Linked DNA regions of Homo sapiens: region 2 is linked to region 1. Evidence: promoter capture Hi-C in 16 types of primary human blood cells and fetal thymus (Javierre and others, 2016). All regions are on one chromosome and are shown on one strand. The core of a region is centred on a gene start or on the middle of the fragment in contact, and the rest is flanking DNA. Distances in the headings are between cores, read along the strand shown.

What was found. Contacts are between HindIII fragments. The CHiCAGO score rates a contact against its expected background, and 5 or more counts as called.
Region 2: a fragment that was not itself captured here is called in contact with the fragment with the promoter of COX4I2 in region 1 in 11 of 17 cell types (megakaryocytes, M1 macrophages, erythroblasts and 8 more); the score reaches 10.1 in megakaryocytes.

The regions. Positions count from the first base shown.
Region 1 is chr20:31,636,650-31,639,192 of GRCh38, forward strand. COX4I2 (cytochrome c oxidase subunit 4I2) reads left to right here and starts at 1,263. Exons shown (of 5, transcript NM_032609.3): 1 at 1,263-1,313; 2 at 2,369-2,450. The coding sequence starts at 2,369. RefSeq lists a silencer at 1,184-1,323. The HindIII fragment of the contact is 5,408 bases long and covers 1-2,543 here.
Region 2 is chr20:31,717,055-31,719,597 of GRCh38, forward strand. All of the region lies in intron 2 of BCL2L1 (BCL2 like 1), which reads right to left. Among named protein-coding and RNA genes, the nearest start is that of BCL2L1, 4.5 kb to the right of the region's middle. RefSeq lists an enhancer at 961-1,010 and a silencer at 1,241-1,340. The HindIII fragment of the contact is 4,439 bases long and covers 1-2,543 here.

The DNA.
Region 1 (2,543 bases), core at 13-2,512:
TTTTTTTTTTTTTTTTTGAGATGGAGTCTCGCTCTGTCACTAGGCTCGAGTGCAGTGGCATGATCTTGGCTCACCGCAACCTCTGCCTTGCGGGTTCAAGCCATTCTCCTGCCTCAGCCTCCTGAGTAGCTGGGACCACAGGCGCCTGCCACCATGCCTGGCTAATTTTGTTTGCATTTTTAGTAGAGACGGGGTTTCGCTGTGTTAGCCAGGATGGTCTCCATCTCCTGACCTCATGATCTGCCCCCCTTGGCCTCCCAAAGTGCTGGGAATTTTTTTTTTCTTTTTCTTTTTCTTTTTTTCTGAGACAGAGTCTTGTTCTGTTGCCCAGGCTGGAGTGCAGTGGCCCGATCTCGGCTCACTGCAACAGCCGCTTCCCAGGTTCAAGTGATTCTCCTGCCTCAGCCCTCTGTGAAGCTGGGACTATAGGTGCGCGCCACCACGCCCTGCTAACTTTTTTTTTTTTTTTTTTTTTTTTTGAGATGGAGTCTAGCTCTGCTGCCCAGGCTAGAGTGCAGTAGCCGGATCTCGACTCACCGCAACCTCCGCCTCCCGGGTTCAAGCGATTCTCCTGCCTCAGCCTCCTGAGTAGCTGGGATTACAGGTGCGTGCCACCACGCCCAGCTAATTTTTGTATTCTTAGTAAAGATGGGGTTTCACCATGTTGGCTAAGCTGTCTCAAACTCCTGACCTCGTGATTTGCCTGCCTTGGCCTCCCAAAGCGCTGAGATTACAGGCATGAGCCACCGCGCCCGCCCAATTTTTCTATTTTTAATAGAGAAGGTGTTTCGCCATGCTGGGCAGGCTGGTCTCAAACTCCTGACCTCAGGTGATCCTCCCGCCTCGGCCTCCCAAAGTGCTAGGATTACAGGCGTGAGCCACTGCTGGCCTAAAAGATGCTTCTGGAGTAGGAGGCATTGGGCCTGGCTGGAAGGTTTGCGTCTGCAAAGGCCTGAAGAGAACATCCCAGGTGGGAGAAACAGCAAGGAGGGGAGGTGTGGAGGAGGCAGGGAGACCCTGTTCTTGGGACTACTGTCTGCAGAGGGTCTCCAGAGGCAGGACCCCGGTAGGGACACTGATGCAGGAGGCGCTCTGCAGTGCCTCCCCCCAATCTGTGGGCCGGGGTGCCCCCAGGGACGCAGGCTGTGCGCTCCCACGCCCTGCCGAAGCAGGACGTTCCCACGCTGGGGCGGCCCCGAGAAAGGCTGTGGGGCGGGCCGGGGGCGGGCGCCCGCACTCAGGTCCCTCCGCAGCGGGTTCTCAGTTGCTCGCTGGGCAGACCCAGGTCGCGCTCCCACTGCCGAGCCCGCGAGGTGAGTGAGTTGGGGGAGGACCCCGCCACCCAAGCCCGCGCGGGTCAGGGGCGCGGCTCGGTCTCCTGCCTTCGCCGCTGGGTCACGCCCCAGTGGTCCCTGTCTTAGAGGGTTGGGGGGCTTCTTGTAGGTTAGAGTTGAAGACTCCTGGGGAGTCTGCATATGTGTGCCATCTCTTTCCCCAAATATAGATTACATCCTCCCTCTCTTGATATGTGGAGCTCTCCCACCCACTAATCATAATCACTGGCCGGAGCCCCTCTTTTCCAGAAGTGTGGGCCGCCCCCTCCCACTTATCACCTGTAGTGTGCCCCCTCCCTCACTCTATTTGTTGGGTGCCCCTCTCTCTCCCTAGATGTGGGACTCCCCTTCTTTTCCCCAGATGTGTGTCTCCCTCCCTCTGACCCAGTTAAGTCCCCATCCTCTAAAGCCCCTCCCCACCACCATGGATGCCAAACCCTGAGTCTTCCCTGGGGGTGGGAGACTGGGCTCAGCCAGACTGGCTAAGCCCAGTCCCCACCCCAACCAGATCCAGCAGAGCAGGCCTGTGTGCACGTAGGCAGCCAATTAGGGGGGAAGGGGTGGGGGCCAGACCGTCTGTCTGTTCTGCCGGTGCAGGGGCCTCTGGCCCCTGCAGGGAAGAGAGACTCAAGAACTGCTCCCTCTCCACCTGGACCCCACCCAGCTTCCTCTGGGGAGCAAACAAGTGAGCGGGGTTCTCCAATCTGGCCAGACTGAGCTGGGGCTGGCACCAGAACCCAAGCCCTCAGCCTCAAACTCTTCAGACCCTGGCCCAAGACTTAGGCCTCCTCCCACTTCTCAGATGGTGAATTGAGGTCCCAAAAAGGGGCTTCAAAGGTCTAGGACCCCCATTGGCCCCCCGCTGGGGATATCAGACAAAATTAGAAGGGTCAAGGGCATGAGGGTGACCTTGAAACACTGGGACACCCCTACCACTACCATACCAGTGGAAAAGGATTTTTCCATCTGGCCCTGCGGTTTGGGGGCAGAGGGTGATGTGGGGGCAGAACTCATCTATACCTTCACGCCCCCAGATGCTCCCCAGAGCTGCCTGGAGCTTGGTGCTGAGGAAAGGTGGAGGTGGAAGACGAGGGATGCACAGCTCAGAAGGCACCAGTGAGACCTGGACTCCTTCCTCCCTGCCTAACTCCAGAGATAGGGGCAGGGGTCCCCTCTGCAGGCTGCCCCCTTTGCCCTTCCATGCCACCC
Region 2 (2,543 bases), core at 14-2,513, 80 kb after region 1:
GGAGGTTGGGTGGGGACAGGGCCTCTGCTTAATTAAGGCAGTAGGAGATTATACTTCCGTAGAAAAGCAGTACACTGGGAATTACCCCTATGTCTATCCACATTAAACTCAGGCAAAACCACAGTTGCTTCAAGAAAGCCCCATGATGGAAGGCTGAGGGCACTGGCAAAACCAGGGAGACTGGACACAGAGGAGGACGCTCAAGCCCACTGGCCTCAGGACAGATATCTGCTGGGGGAAGGGACAGAGATAACAACTGCTGTTTCATGCAGCCCAAACAAATCTGGGGACACCCATACAAAAGTCAAGAAAACCCTCCAGGTTCCATTGGAGCCCCCTGAAAAAATACCCGGGTAATTTTCGACAGAAGCTAAAGGGCTCTGTGGGGCTACTGGGGAAATTATTCCTAGGAAGTCTGGAAAACCCTGTGATGGTAACAGAATTTTAAGAGCAACCTCAAATGTACACTCAGAAGAAGTAGGTGTTTCAAGGGGGAGCCCCTGAGACACTTCTACTTAATTTTGGGACCCGAATGAGATTACTAAAAATTTCCACATTTGGGGTTTCTAATGGGGTTTCCCTAAGAAAACCACAGAACTGCCACTATCTGCAAAGGGAGCTGAGGTGCTTCAACTAAGCATACATCCATCTGAAGAAGCCACATTAGGCAATAAGAGATCTACAGAAACTCAGACCACTGAGCCATACAGCTTAAGAAAGGCCAAGTTATGTTTTCTCCCCCAACACAGTTCATTGCTCCCAACAATTACGTTTCTATCAGGCTAAGGGATTTCTTCAGGGACAGCAATCCCAAAGTGGCAAGGCCCACCTGGGTCCCTTCCCACATTCCCATTGGAAAGCACCAGAAACACTTGTGTCCCTTCGGGGAAGGTCATGTATACAACATTCCAGGAAAGTATCACAGGGACTTTGTTTCTCAAGGAGAAACTCTAGGGGGAAGAGTCAGTTCTCTGAGGGAAGCTGCCCATTCATTAAAGGGTTTCCACCCTACAATTATGGCAGGAGAAGGGCTTTTGTGCTAGATCCTTTACTCGAGTCAAGCTATGGCAGCTGGCTATCATTATTCCATTTTACAGGCGGGAGAGACAGATGGACAAGACAGCCGAACAGGTTCAGCATTTCATCAGGTGACTCCAGGCAGGCAGTAATCTGGCTAAGGGTCTACACTTTCAGTCCTTGAAGCATCACTCCACCACTAAGTAGAGATACCTGGGGCAGGCCACCTTCTCCCCACACGCACACCACTGTCATCTATTGGCAGGGCCTGAGAGGGTTTTAACAATGAAAAAATTGGCCGGGGCCAGGCACGGTGGTTCATGCCTGTAATCCCAGCATTTTGGGAGGCTGAGGCAGGCGGATCACCTGAGGTTGGGAGTTTGAAACCAGCTTGACCAACATGGAGAAACCCCATCTCTACTAAAAATACAAAATTAGCCAGGTGTGGTGGCGCATGCCTGTAATCCCAGCTACTTGGGAGGCTGAGGCAGGAGAATCACTTGAACCCGGGAGGCAGAGGCTGCAGTGAGCTGAGATCGCGCCACTGCACTCCAGCCTAGGCAACAAGAGCGAGACTCCGTCTCAAAAAAAAAAAAAAAAAGAAAAAATTAATAAGCAGCTCACTCTGGGCAAAACCCTGATGCCCACTTGAAACCTGCCATGTCTGAGTTTTACCAGTGCCAGAATCTGAGGCTACCAACACGCCTCTGGGAACCTGCTACTGCCAACTATCCTTCCCATAGCTACCTGAACAAAGCCAGTTATCAGTCCAGAGTGAGCACCTTCACAGGCATGGTTTGCTTGGCCCAACAGCATCTCTGGCTTTCTGGGCCAGCATGTCTAGGTCACTTTATTACTCCCTGGACAACTTGATAGGATGAAAAGTGTTGGCTTTAGAATTATGCCAACCTTGGTGTAAATTCTCATTCAGACACTTAACTGGCTGAGGGACACCTGGGGTCAGTCACTTAGGCACAAAGACCTTCATGTGTAAACTGGGAATAAACTCACCTTCCTTGGAAGGTTACTGTAGAATATATGAAACAGCATGCCGTTTCCATGAAGGAAGGTACCATGCGTGGCTTATGGCCAGCACCTAGTACACTGCTAGCTTCACAGTAGATGCTCAAGAAACACTGGTTGCATAAGTAGAGGACCTAACACAGTGCCTAGTACTTAACAGGTACTCAATAAAGACTAATTTCCTTCCCCTTTCCTGTAGGGATGCTAAATTTAGAACATAGCCCTGAGTAGAATAGCCCATAACTCCTACCCTTAAGGATCTCCCAGCCGCAGTCTCCAGGATAATTACCCGATGCCACCACAGTAGCCAGTCGGTGCAGCTTGGAACAGGATAATACCTGAGAGGAAGGGGGCGGGTACCTTCTACCCAGGCTCAAAGGATCCTGAGTCAAATGTTCTTTACTCCCTGGCCTTAGGGAGAGAATGTGTGCTCAGAAATGGTTCTGATATAACTGGCTCTTCCACACACATCCCCTCTGTTCACCAAGAGGAAGTGACATGTG